Linked DNA regions of Homo sapiens: regions 2, 3, 4 and 5 are each linked to region 1. The links are contacts of gene promoters, found by promoter capture Hi-C in blood cells and fetal thymus (Javierre and others, 2016). All regions are on one chromosome and are shown on one strand. The core of a region is centred on a gene start or on the middle of the fragment in contact, and the rest is flanking DNA. Distances in the headings are between cores, read along the strand shown.

The links. The method cuts DNA at HindIII sites, captures the fragments that hold promoters and counts their contacts. A CHiCAGO score of 5 or more calls a contact.
Region 2: a contact is called between the fragment with the promoter of RASGRP1 here and the fragment with the promoter of SLC12A6 in region 1, in 1 of 17 cell types (activated CD4 T cells). The highest score is 6.0, in activated CD4 T cells.
Region 3: a contact is called between a fragment that was not itself captured here and the fragment with the promoter of SLC12A6 in region 1, in 2 of 17 cell types (non-activated CD4 T cells and activated CD4 T cells). The highest score is 7.4, in non-activated CD4 T cells.
Region 4: a fragment that was not itself captured here is called in contact with the fragment with the promoter of SLC12A6 in region 1 in 1 of 17 cell types (M0 macrophages); the score reaches 6.9 in M0 macrophages.
Region 5: a fragment that was not itself captured here is called in contact with the fragment with the promoter of SLC12A6 in region 1 in 1 of 17 cell types (non-activated CD4 T cells); the score reaches 7.0 in non-activated CD4 T cells.

The regions. Positions count from the first base shown.
Region 1 is chr15:34,336,278-34,339,057 of GRCh38, reverse strand. SLC12A6 (solute carrier family 12 member 6) reads left to right here and starts at 1,277. Exons shown (of 26, transcript NM_001365088.1): 1 at 1,277-1,726; 2 at 2,306-2,648. The coding sequence starts at 2,378. RefSeq lists a silencer at 863-1,422 and an enhancer at 2,712-2,780. The HindIII fragment of the contact is 4,998 bases long and covers 1-2,780 here.
Region 2 is chr15:38,563,416-38,566,115 of GRCh38, reverse strand. RASGRP1 (RAS guanyl releasing protein 1) reads left to right here and starts at 1,302. Exons shown (of 17, transcript NM_005739.4): 1 at 1,302-1,522. The coding sequence starts at 1,488. RefSeq lists enhancers at 696-885, 727-1,238 and silencers at 1,096-1,145, 1,306-1,545, 1,576-1,795, 1,806-2,005. The HindIII fragment of the contact is 3,108 bases long and covers 1-2,322 here.
Region 3 is chr15:38,680,826-38,683,525 of GRCh38, reverse strand. All of the region lies in intron 1 of LOC105370775 (a long non-coding RNA gene), which reads right to left. Among named protein-coding and RNA genes, the nearest start is that of LINC02694, 14 kb to the left of the region's middle. The HindIII fragment of the contact is 4,614 bases long and covers 1-2,700 here.
Region 4 is chr15:38,083,865-38,086,564 of GRCh38, reverse strand. No RefSeq gene overlaps it. Among named protein-coding and RNA genes, the nearest start is that of LINC01852, 12 kb to the right of the region's middle. RefSeq lists a silencer at 491-550. The HindIII fragment of the contact is 748 bases long and covers 1,064-1,811 here.
Region 5 is chr15:38,664,764-38,667,463 of GRCh38, reverse strand. No RefSeq gene overlaps it. Among named protein-coding and RNA genes, the nearest start is that of LINC02694, 30 kb to the left of the region's middle. The HindIII fragment of the contact is 832 bases long and covers 1,018-1,849 here.

The sequences.
Region 1 (2,780 bases), core at 28-2,527:
TAAATTTAGAGGTCTTGATCACAGCTATAGGAAATAGCTTTTCAAACAAAACATTGGTGAGTCAGAATTTATCGAACACCACCATTTATACATTAAATAAACACTAAGAAAAAATATTCTAGCGACAAATGTAGTGGTGAAAACATGGAATGGATTTGAGAAAATACATCAACGTCTTCTCCAGGTATAAAAAAACGTATTATTTAGTGGAACTTTCAGTCTGACTAGAAAGTGGACATAGCATTTATTAAAAGGACAAGAACAACAACAAAAAATTAAAGTAGGACAAATGTGTTTAAGGTACTTTATAGTTTTATTTTTATTTATTTATTTCTTTGAGACGGAGTTTTGCTCTTGTCCCCCCAGGCTGGAATGCAATGGTGCGTTCTCGGCTCACTGCAACCTCCGCCTCCCAAGCTCAAGCGATTCTCCTGCCTCAGTCTAAGGAATAGCTGGGATTACAGGCACACGCCACCACGCCCGGCTAATTTTTGAATTTTTGGTAGAGACGGGGTTTCGCTATGCTGGCCAGGCTGGTCTGGAACTCCTGAGCTCAGGTGATCGATCACGCCCGCCTCAGCCTCCCAAAGTGCTAGGATTACAGTCGTGAACCACCGCGCCAGGCCTACTTTATAGTTTTAATTTTTTTTTTTTACATAAAAGTGGTTTATTTGTATGTAGACCTCTACATAAAAATTACAATGAGGGTTATTCCCAGGTATAGGAGCGGTGTTTCTGGTTAAAGAAATCATGAATGATGTTTTCAGAGACACTCATGAAAGAGAAATGGCTCCCCGGGTTCTGAGGGTGAGGAGCAGCGCCCGCCCTCTAGGATGCTTCCAGAGTGAGTGTGCAGCACAGCCGGACCGAGGAAAAGGATTATTCCCCTCTTCACGCGGGTCGGGCCGTGCCCTGGACTACAGCTCCCGTCGTGCCCCTGGCCACTCGTATTCGGCCCCGCCCCGCCTGCCGTGTCCCGCGGCGAGCGCAGGCGCGCTGCACTCGGTCACCGCGGGCTGCGGCGGCTGGGCGGGGCTTTCGGGCGCCCGCGGGACGGTTCCGCCCTCTCACTGCACCCCCGGGCTTCTCTTCGCAAGGTTCACCTCGAATGAGGAACAAGCGGGGAGGGAAGGGAAGGGCTGCGGCGGCGCGGGCGCACCCCGTCGGGCCCGGGGCTGGGGGAGGCCAGGTCACGTAACTGCTGCTCTGGCGTCGGGCCGGGGAGGGGGCGCCAGCCCCGGCAGCGCGAACCCTGCGCGCGCCGCGGCTCTGAAACAGTTACCGGCTAGTAAACAACAGCTGCGCGCGCACCCGCATCAGCTGGCGCCGGGATACTGCACCTGCGACCTCCTTCTCCCTCACCCTGCTGCCCAGTCAGGCCAGCCTGCGTGGCCGTCTCCTCCTCTACTGGGACCCTGAGGAAGAACGACGAGGGGGTGACCTGCGCCGGGGCGGGGGTAGGGGAGAACGCGCCTCCGGCAAAGGGGGTGGCTCGTCCTGTCACACGCAGGAGAAACCTAGCGAGCGGACCGTGGCTCAGTGGACTAGCTACGACTTGCCACGACTCTGAGCTGCAGTCCGAGGTGTCTTGATCCGCTAACCTCCTCCCAGACCCCGAGGACCTTTCTGCTAGGAGAAGAGCGGGCGCGCCACCCCCACCGACCTCTCGGAGACAGGAATCCGCTCTGCCCCTGCATCCTCCTCTGCTCACCCTTCTCTCAGTAGTGTGGGTTATTTTTCCCGTTATGCATGTGCACCTTTCCCACCAGACCCAAGTGGATTGTCGACATCAAAAACACCGGGTGGCTTTGCATACACCTCCCCCCAGCCAGACCTGTGGGGTATTCACCTGATACACAACAGGTGGCCGGGTGTACACCTTTTAGCAATCTGATCCACGCTATAGTCGCCTGATAAAGGTTTGCCTGCACGCACTTCGCCCAACTAGAACCGTGGGACACTCACCAGATAAAGGACTACCTCGACAGGAAACTGGGGGCTGAGGGGAGGGAGGCTTCATCTGCTGCCCTGAGACCATGGCACTGAGCCTTCAGCCCCGGACCAGAGGGGTTAGCTAGGTAGCTCTTCATTCTGAAGGAAAGAAGTCACACAAGATTGGCATTGTTTTGTCTTTTTGTTTTTTGTTTTTTTCTCTCTTAAAAAATATATTCACCTATTGGTGATGCACTTTCTAGGACAGTCGGCTTGAATTCTGAGTAGAAGTATTCTTAGTTGGGGCTTTTTGTGTGGTGTGAATCAAGGTTATTGAAATGTGTTATTTTTCAAGTTATCTTTTGTATTGCAGTCAAAAGTAGCTAGCGTAAGAGGAAGATTTTGCGAGGTTCCCCCCACTTTTTTTGTTCTTAAAAAGAACAAAATGCATCCTCCAGAAACCACCACCAAGATGGCTTCAGTTCGGTTCATGGTGACACCGACAAAGATCGATGACATTCCAGGTTTGTCAGACACCAGTCCGGACCTCAGCTCTCGATCTAGTTCCCGAGTAAGATTTAGCTCCCGGGAAAGCGTGCCTGAAACAAGCCGGAGTGAGCCTATGAGTGAGATGTCTGGGGCCACCACTTCGCTGGCAACTGTTGCACTGGATCCACCCAGTGACCGGACTTCTCACCCCCAGGATGTCATCGAGGGTAAGTAGAAACACAGACCGCAGCATACTTTCATTACTGGGTTCTTTATCCAAGATGACCATCTATGGATCTGGAAGATCATAATCATATAATTATGATTATAATAGTCATCAGGAACCAAGGCATCTCTTT
Region 2 (2,700 bases), core at 53-2,552, 4.2 Mb before region 1:
ACTTGACTGCTAGAAATGCAGGAGACAAATTTTGGTCCCACCTGTAGCAAGGGTATTTGACTCTATGAGATGCATTTATTTCAAATGATGTTCATTTTTGGCTCCATCTTGTGTGCCTCATTTTTCATTTCACACACTTCTTTTTGTAGGTTATGTGCTCTTGTAAGCTATCTCGAATTCTGTTTTAAGGACAAGGTAGCATATAAATATAAGGAAATATATAAATGAAACAGAGGAAGGCTTTAAAGTCCAGAACACTATGGCCAGGAAGACAACTATGACTGTGGCTAGAGTTATGGTCTGTGGCCGTGATAATGAGTGTGTTATTAGGGCAGTCCAGCAGTGATTACAGGGAGTCAGACAGACCTCAGTCCAAGTCAGAGGTCTCTCTGCTGTTTATTAGTTGTATGATCTAAGGCATAGCATTCTCTAAACCTTCATTTTCTCATCTTTACAACAGTGATCTCTTTGTATCAGGGAGAGTGGATTAAATGAGGTAATGTATAGAAAGCACTTAGCACAACCGCACTCAATCATTAGCTATTGAGATTATCAGCACTATCACCTGGACAAGCAGCGGATGGGCCGCCCCTCTTGGCCAGGTCTTCTGTGCGCACTGACGTTGTATGAAAGTTGTCCCCACATCTCCTACACCCACCGACGCCAGGCGGCCGCGTCTGGGCCAGATATGGATCACGCCTGTGGAGCGCACCTCCACACAGGCAGCCCTCGTCCAAGGTGCAGGGCGCAGGGCACAGGGCACATGTCTACGGCCCAGTCCTGCAGACGGCTACCTAGAGACCCCAGGGCACAGGTTAAGGCAACTTCACAACTGTCTTTCCGTTCCTTTCCCCTGCCGGACTCCGCGCTCTGATATATACAGGAGAGGCCCTGGAGGGGAGAAGGCGTCCTCACTGCAGTGCTCCGAGCAGCGGCCGCAGGAAGAGGCGTGGAAGCTGCGGGTCGGCTGCGGGAAAGGGGGTCCCATGGGAGCCGCTAGGCGCAGCCCGTTTCCCGAGCTGAGGTGGAGGTCGACGGGCACAGGTGCCCTGCAAGGCGCGGGCGTGGTAGCCGGGAGCCCGCTCCTCTCCAACTCCCCTGAGACTTAACCCTTTGGCCAAGAGAGGTCGAAGGCGGGCAGGGGTGAGAGAACCGCGCGAGGCGCAGGCCGGGGCACCCGCGGAAAGGGGGCAGGTTTCGGGGAAGAGCGGCGGGGCGCCGCACGTTTCCTGCAGCCGCCAGCATCAGCGTGTCAGGTGGTTGCCAGGCGGGTGTGAGCGCGCGCGCGAGGCAGAGGGGGCGCGCTCGCACAAAGTTTGTGCCTGCGGTGCACCTCGGTCGGGCTCGCCGGGCTCGAGGGCTGGCGGGCGCCGGGGCTACGAGGCCCGGGGGGGAGAGAGCCGGCAGGCGGCGGCGGTGGTGGCGGGGGCGATGCGCCGCGCCCGGCCGCGCTAGGTGAGCCGGCACCGGGAGCGCGGGCCGCGGCCATGGGCACCCTGGGCAAGGCGAGAGAGGCTCCGCGGTGAGTAGAGGCGGCCGTGGCCCTCGGGAGCGCCTGTGTCCTTTCTTGGGAAAGAGGCCCCTGCCCGTCGCCCCAACACCCCGAGGGAAGTTGAGGGCGGAGGGGGGCCGGGGTCGGCCGGAGTCCCGGGACACCAGCGCGACGGGCGGACGTGTCCAGAACGCCCGGCGCGCTGCGCCCGGGGTTTCGGGGAGGGAGCTGGGGCTGAGGGGTGGTAGAGGGGCGGCCGCGAGGCCAGAGCTCGTCCGGTGAGATCTGCTAGGGCCGAAGCTCTTCGCGGAGCCGGCGCCCGCCCGCCGACTTCCTCCCCCACATCTCCACGCCCGGCATCGGGACTCCCACTCGCGGACTTTCCGCGCTGCCCGCACCTGCTGGGGCGCTGGGCTCCGGCTGCGCCACCTGGTGGCCCCTCCCGGCCCTGCCCAGAACGGCCGAGGAGCTTGCAGGGAGCCCGCAGAGGTGGCACCCCTCGGTTGCCCCTGCCCCACGGAAGTTTCCAGATCCGTGGGTCAGGGAAACATATCGCCTTCCGTATGGGAAGCTGCACTCCTCTCCCCCTCACTATGATTCTATAGAGGGTCTTGGATAACAGAAGTTGAAGAAAGAGGGACAGTGAGTGAAAGGGCTCTTGGCCAGGCAGCTTTGAGTTTGTAGCCAAAGGACCAGAACTAGGCAACTGCATGAACAAAGGCCTGGCCTCGGCGTAGGGGCTGGACAAGTTGTGCACTTCACAACTCCATTCACATCGACACTGATGGGACTGTGCCTTGCACCACCATACCCAGTAGCGGCAGGAAGCTTGCGATGCTGGACTTCCCGTGCTTATAATCCCAGGAACGAAGGATTCTTGGCCCTGTATGCACGCCCTGCCTCTCCCCATCCAGGTATCCCCTGAGGGTCCACCACTGTACTTTGCACTAGATTCAGAAGGAGGAGTTCAGTACATTAAATTGAGTATTGTAAGGGGAAGAGGACGGGACTGGAAGGAATCCATACTAGAAGTCAAGAGAGTCACCTTCCACTGCAAAGAAAGTTGTGGAAGTTCCAGTTCCCTTGCTCCATTTCATCTCTTACTTTTCTAGGCGGATTTCATAAAAAGCTCAGCCTGAAACTGACCTCCACTGAGATACCTATGCCTGGAGAGGATTTCACCTAAACCAGTTTAGAGTTTTGACGGT
Region 3 (2,700 bases), core at 89-2,588, 4.3 Mb before region 1:
TGAGATGTGAGTGAAAATCATATGTGACCCCTTAGAGCCAAGGTAGAGAAAAGTGAGTATAATTTCTCTATGCTTGTCTCTTCCTTTGCTGTGGTAGCTGGTAACATGATGGGTGGCAGAGCCTCTGCTAGACTGAATCCCTGGGTAAGTATGTGGAGGACAGCCATCATAGAATCATCACTAACCCCATGCTTCTTGACCCCAATCCTCCACAGCTCATGTTGGATAGGTAGCACAAATTTTTATTGAATTAAGCCATAAAGAGTTGGGGGGTTGTTTCTGCAGGTATGTCAGTCTGCCTAAGGACTAACTTTCTAGCTGCAGAGATGGAACTAAGAGTGGAGTCTTTCTCCTCTAAGTGAGTAGGCCTTTGCATAAGCAGCACAGACAGATGAGGGATGGAGGAAACAGAAGCAAGCTGCATTGCCACCCCCTATCCTCCTGGGACCAGTGAGAAGGAGGGGACTTCCTAACCAAAGAGGCTAGGAAGGCCTACAGGGTCTTAAGCGTTTCAAGCAGCATACTGAGCACATGATAGCAGACCAAAAGGGTATGATTATTTCAGCAGACCCAGGTTCTGGCCAGGGGAGAGCAGAGCTTGATGTAGCTGATCTCAGTAGGGGTAGCTTGTAGACTTTTCCCAGGCTGCCCACAGACATGGCCGTGGGGTCTCTCTATTACAACAGCCACGAACATAATGGAAAAAAAAAATAGGTAGGTAGCTGTGTGGTTAGTGGGGGCACCAATTACCCCATAAATCAATTTGCTGTGTGTGTGGAGTGGGGGGTTGTTGGAGCTTCTTATTTTGATATAATTTCAAACAAGAGAAAAAAATGGAAGAATCATAGAAAGAACTTCCACATACCCTTCACCAAGGTTCACTAGTCCCCTTAAAAGTAATCTCTTTCATACCCAACCTAGCTATAATGCCTAACTCAAACTTCAATATTAAAGTTTCATGAGTCAGCTTTATATGTAAGATTTGCAAAACGTGATAGAATACTGATATGGTTTGGGTGTGTCCCCACCCAAATCTCAACTTGAATTGTATCTCCCAGAATTTCCACATGTTGTGGGAGGGACCTAGGGGGAGGTAATCGAATCATGGGGGCTCATCTTTCCCATGATATTCTCATGACAGTGAATAAGTCTCTCGAGATCTGATGGACTTATCAGGGTTTTCTGCTTTTGCTTCTTCCTCATTTTTCTCTTGCCGCCACCATGTAAGAAGTATAAGAAGTACCTTTCACCTCCTGCCATGACTCTGAGGCCTCCCCAGCCACATGGAACTGTAAGTCCAATTAAACCTCTTTTCCTTTCCAGTATCGGGTATGTCTTTATTAGCAGTGTGAAAACGGACTAATACAAGTACGCTTAATGTATAGTTATTTTATATTAAAAAAAAGTAACACTCATTGGAAAAATAGGCAGAGGCCATAAGTAGCCATTTGAAAAAAGAAACAGAATGGACAAAATTATGAAAAGTTCAACCCCTCTAGTAATAAATGTAAATTAAAACCTCATTTTCCACTTAGCAGACTAACAAGTGTTTATACGTATGATTATACTTGTGTTGGCGATAGTATGAGAAAATACTATCGCGCTGTTTCTGGAAATTGGTTCAACGAATGATGTAATTGGCTTGTCTGGCAACAAATATCAAAAAAAAATTTTTTTTAATGCACTTGCCTTTTAGCACAGCAATCTTAATTCTAGGAAGGTATCTGAGGGAATAGGCAAACAAATGTCCCTGACCCACCCCAAGAAGAAGTGTATCTATTGGCCGGGCGCGCTGGCTCACACCTGTAATCCCAGCACTTTGGGAGGCCGAGGCAGGTGGATCACGAGGTCAGGAGACGAGACCATCCTGGCTAACACGGTGAAACCCCATCTCTACTAAAAATACAAAAAATTAGCCAGGCGTGGTGGCGGGCGCCCGCAGTCCCAGCTACTCAGGAGACTGAGGCAGGAGAATGGCATGAACCCAGGAGGCGGAGCTTGCAGTGAGCCGAGATGGCACCACTGCACTCCAGCCTGGGTGACAGAGTGAGACTCTGTCTCAAAAAAAAAGAAGAAGAGGAAGAGGAAGAGGAAGAAGGAAGAAGGAAGAAGAAGAAAAAGAAGAAGAAGAAGAAGAAGAAGAGAATCCATCAAAACAAGAGGAAGAAGAGGAAGAAGAAGAAGAGGAAGAGGAAGAATAAGAAGAAGAAGAAGAAGAAGAAGAAGAAGAAGAAGAAGAAGAAGAAGAAGAAGAAGAAGAAGAAGAAGAAAGAAGAAGAGAATCCATCACAACATTATCCAAAAAAAAAAAACAAAAAAAAAATCAGAATGAAGGGACTTTGGTCAATTAAATGATGGTGTTTTATAGAAAGCACTAACACCACCTACATAGCACTTATAGAACGCCTGGCTCTGTTCTTAACTCCTTGCATATATTAACTCATCTAAGCCTCCCAACAGATAGGTACTACAATTACTGTCAGCATTTCACAGATGATGGAACTGAGGAACAGAGAGGTTCGCTAACCAGGTCATAAAGCTAGTCAATGCAGAGCTAATATCTGCATCTAGGCGGTCTGGTCTGAGTCAGCTCTCTTAAATTTACATTACACAACCTTTCATAGGATGTGTAAGCCTCTCTCTGCAGCTACTAAAATGACAAAATAGATTGTATTCGCTGTCATGAAAAATGTTCATAAT
Region 4 (2,700 bases), core at 188-2,687, 3.7 Mb before region 1:
TGCAGTGGGCAGTTTTCCATGGTGGGATATGGAAACACATTCTCTGAAATGTGATTCTTCCTATATCTTCTCTTTCTTACAGTTGGTTCTAAGCAAGAACAGATCTACTGAATGGTGAGAAAATGGACAGGGAGTCTTCAAACTTCCTCCTTGTCTGTGCTCCCAACCTCTTTCTGTGTCCTTTTGCAATCCCTTCAGTAGTTTCTCCATGTGACTACATTTTACTGCTTTTGTCCTTCTTACCAGTCCTTCCTCTTGCTACCAAACTCTTCCTCCTCCTCACTTTAAGAAGGCACTCTTAAAAAGTTGAAGCTTCTAGTCCACCCAGAAACAAATTGAGATAAGCTTTTTGAGAGGCTGCTTTATAGGCTGTTTCAATTCAGAGAGATTAAACAGGATGACCTCACTGAAAAAGAAACCACACTTAATAGCTTTAAATGGGACTGCTCTTAGCTGGGTCACCCTGAACCACTGCATACACTTCTTGTTTCAAGTGAATGTGGTGGTTTGGGCCAGAGTGAGTTGTCCGTGAGATAGTTTAAATGCCTTTGCTTTCAGAAATGAGCCAACACCTTACAATGTAAGCAGAGGGAGGGAATATGTAGGTTTGTCTGATATTCAATCCCAAACCCTGAATCCTATTCCTGAGACATCTTGGGAAACTGGCATTCTCTTTCTCTGCTTCTCTCAATGAGAAATTTGTGGAATGCAAGTTCTTCAGAATAGAGACTCCATCCATGTCTCACCCACGTTTATCCTAAATTAGGGACTTCAGATGAACACAGTTTAAGGTAACAGCAAAGAGCATCTCCTTTAAATCAGAAAGACCAGATCTCCACTCCCAGCTTCACTATCAGGGCTGTTGTTGGGGTCAAATAATAAGTTCATACAAGAGCTTATCACAATACTTAGAACACAGTAAATATTTAACACATTTTAATTATTTGTTAGTTTTTATCTTGAAATGGAAGCTGCCTCTATCAACAGCCAACATAAAGAACTCTGGGCTCTGTCCCAAAATATGTGGCCCAAATTTTAACTAAATCAAGACTTCTAGAAAGCTTTTCCTAAATCTCTTTGACTTCGTGAGGGATACTAACTTTTAGTAGCTTGCTCTCTCAGTCTTCTAAAGGGGAAACAGATTTTGCCAACATTAGGAAGTCTTCATTATTAATAGACATTGTTTTGAGTTCCCCCTGGCCAAGTTGCTGACTCAATACTTCTTGTTTTAGAAAAAGGAAGTAGCTGAAAGGCACCTGTTAATGAGACTAAAGTACCACAGTGTCTGTGTGTGTGGGTGGGTGTGGGTGTGTGAGCGCGCACACGTGCGAGAGAGGTGGGGAGAGACAATGAGAGAGAGAGAGAAGAGAGTTAAATCCCATTCTTCGAGTGAATATGAAAACCATCATATAGAAAGATGAGGTTCACGGTATATCAATTTTCTTGAAATGTCTAACTTTTATTTTCCCTTAAACATGCTTTTTAATTTTTGCCCTTAAGAAGTGTACAATAGACAAACCAATTGTTACTGTAATGGAAAGATTTTATTTCCTATAGCTTTCTTGATAAATAAAATTATTAAATTGGAATTGCCATTAACTTAGTTATAGAGTTCTGCAGTGTTACATCAAGTTATGTATTAAAGAAATTTAAAGAGGGTTTTGTAAGATGAGTGAAGGATGTACTTCATTCTAACTCAGTCCTTTTTCTTAGAACAGCCTTTTCTAATACAGCAGGACAAGACCTGTGGCCTTAAAGAGAGGTTTCAAACAAGGCACGTTACTTTCCTCTTTTATTAATTGATTCAAGCTTATCATGGAAACACATTTATTACATGTCTCCTATATGCCAAGGTTTGTGCTAGGGGTTGAAGATACAATCTAGGGAAAAGCAAACATAAAGAGGTAGAACATTGAGACTTACAAATTCTGTTGAAAAGAAAATAAAAAAGTAAAAGAGGTAGAACAGGATAAATTCTCCAGTAGAGGTAAGAACAGAGAGCTGTAGGGATGGAGGAAGCAATGACTAATTGCCTGTGGTCAAGGAAGGCTCAACCAGAGGAACTGACTCTATACCATGTAAAAACAGCACACTTTGTGGTATAACACCAGCCAGCTTCCTGCATTTTGATTTCTGACTGACCCAACTTTTGCTTTTGATCATTTCCTTTGGTTGGTCAGTCTGCCTGAAGCTCATATTCTACTCATACTCTATTTTTCTATATATTTCTAGAATCTAGACAGGATATGTGTTTGGCATATAATAGGTGCCTAATCAATGTTCAGCTGAAACGATGATGGCTCATGGCTTCAATAAGCTTCCATCCTCATTCCTTTATGCATAGAATGGATCTTCCTTTTTGTATTTAATCCCACATTTCTCCTCAATTTTAACTTTCATGATAAATTATTTGTTGGAGCTTTTGATTCCCCACTTCTAGCCAGAGTTCTGTACATAATCAATTGATGCTGGGCTCCTGCGGCCTGTTGTGTCCTCATGATATCTGGCATAGTGCTACATTCCCTTCATTGCCCTGAGGCTGTGGGTTTATCCCTTAAGATGCCAAGTATGTCCTTAGAATATCCTTGCAATGTCCAGGGATTTTCAGACTACTTCAGAATTATAATAGATATCTATTGACTTACCTCCAAAGTGATGGTAAAAAAGATCTGCTGAATTTTAGGGTCCTGGATGTGTAAT
Region 5 (2,700 bases), core at 184-2,683, 4.3 Mb before region 1:
GAAGTGCTCTCCTAGGCTGGAAAGAATCTCATTTTCTTCTAAAACTGTGACTTCGGACTGACACTTCAAAATTGTCAACAGTAACTTAAGGGATGAGAATGTCTCTTTAGTTATTTTAATCAGCAGCATGTACGGAGTGCACTTTGGTGCACATCTGTTTGTGGGAAGATAAAGAAATAACTACCATGTCTGTCCTGAAGAAGTTGATCAGGTTAAGTAGGACGTTAAGACTAACACAGATTACTCTGTAAAAGATACTGATAAACATGTAAAAATTAACATTACACTGTACACTGGTGTTGTGTGCATCTGGTATAAGAATGATCAAAAGTATGGACGTCTTTTAAATGTCAGCTGACATCTTCAAGGATGAGGACATTTTGAAACAGTGTATTGGAGGAAGTGGTAGAGTCAGACTAACAGCAGAGGGTGTGGAGCAAGGAAATCCTGTGCAGGGATGGCCAGAAAATCTGATGGAATCAGACAGTTAAGAGGTCTAAGGCTTCACAGAAGAAGAGATGGAGATAAAATTATAGCATTTGCAGTTACTAAAGTAATGAAGAGGAAAACAAAAATCAATAGCATTACTATCAAAAATTGGAAAGGGCATGGAGTAAAAGAAGACAGAATGATCTGAATTTTCACCTTTCACAGCAAGTAGACAATGAATGTTATTGAAAGTGAAGAAATCAAGAGACAAAACCATCAGCAAATTATTTACTGAGGTGACCACCGAAATGGCTAAAATTATAAATCATTAAAGAAAGGAAGTAGGGGAAGGGAGGACTCAAAATTGTCATTTTGAATTTTCCAGTACTGACTGATGTTTTACCACGTTTATGCATTACCTTGATAATTTTTAATGGACAGTGGCAGCCTCTGATCTTCCAAGTGCTTTCAAAATATCAGGGCATATTTTATCATATTTATGATAACCTCCAAAATATGCTAGGTATGGCTGGAAAAAACAAAACATAACTCCTCCAAAATCCAGTACTTCGTAAGAAAAAAGAAGCTTCAGGTGTTCTTTGTAAATTATTCATGCTAACCAAGTCTCAGTATAGGTTGCCTAATGACTGATAATATATTTTGATACCTTCACTCTTCTTATTTCATTTTCAAGGGCTACTGGTTGTAGCCAGATACTAAAACTGGGCACTTTCAGTTACAGAAAAATTATCAGCACTTACAGGGGACTTGGAAATACCGTTGTCCTAAAATCCTTTATTCTCATTGTTAAATCACTAAGTCTAAAGTGAATCAGAGTTTTTCATTTTCCCAAGGTCCACAAAAAGTTGATCTAATATTTGGTTTCTCATCATTGTCTTATCTTCCAATTGTATTACATTCCCAGATGACCAAATCCTAGGATGTAAGAGTCTATTTTAGGGCTCATCTGGTTCAGTTTCCTCATTGTAAAGTTGAGCAAACTAGGACTCTTAGGGCTTGGTGACTTGCCCATGGGCATGAACAAATTAATAAACCTACCAGCTGTCCTCTCTCTGGCCCTTCTTTTAAAATGTTATGATATATGGTTTAATAACAACCTTGGCCAGGACTTTTGATTCCTATAATTCTCTTCCACTGACTTTCCCCTACCCCAGTGAAATCTTAGGTAGAAACTTCTTAAGAACAGTAAAAAATTACCTTTACCACAATAAAGACGTGAGTCATGTACCAAAATTTCTCTCCCACCCATCACTTCTTAGGCGCTTAGTCTTAAAGCATCATTTTTATTCTTTGAAGGCAAAACAGCCTTTAAGGGTTGGATATTCTTAATTCAGTCAATGTGGGAAGGGGGAGGTGAAAAAGGAACTCTCTGAGGATAATCACAATGAGAACAAAAGCTTATCCAAATTATGCAATGCATTATAATTATGCTATAAAATTGCTCTTCAGCCGGGGTGTCAATGGAGAGCATTACAATTTTTAAATAGTTCTGTTCTTGATGGGAATTCTTGATCATTTGAGGTGTTCACGTGTGTGCATGCACATTTAGACAAACCATGGAGCTAAAAGCATCCAGAATTTTGCTATCCTTCCCCCACAATTAAAAAAAAATTAAGAAAAGGCAAAAGCAACAACAATAACTCTATATGTACATGTAGGCATTGTCTTTATGGTGGGATCCTTGAGAAGGAAGAACTGTGGCTCTAAAATCAGCACATCTGAAGATGTCCAGGGCTGCTGGGAGCTGTTGGTTTAGAGTGTATTTGCCCAAAGCTGTCAGTCCTCCTGCAGATGAAGCTCACTGTGCAGAACAAGCAGTTGAGTGTGTTCCAAAAGTGAATAGGAGAGAATGCTAGAAACGAAGGGATCAAAGTAGAAGAAGGTGTAAAGCATTGATGTTTTCTAAGTAGCTGTCTCTCTCAGAACAGCACTATGCTGGGCATTTTTGAAAGCACAAGAAAGCAAAGACTTTTCTTATTTATAGAATTGAGGAAACCAATGGTTTTAGCTACTGGCTCTTGGCATGCCTATAATAAGAGAGTCATGATTTACAAAGATACTATTTTTAAGAGTTGTTCTGAGTTTTAAATTCCTACTTTAAGATCTCTCATTTTTCTCTTCCTTACCTTAAACGTTAACTGAATTGGCTATTTTTTTTTTTGATGTTCATGTTTTTGTTCTTGTACATAAATGGTTCCCAACCTGGCTTCACATTAGAATCCCCTGGGAATCTGTAAAAAAGTAATGCCT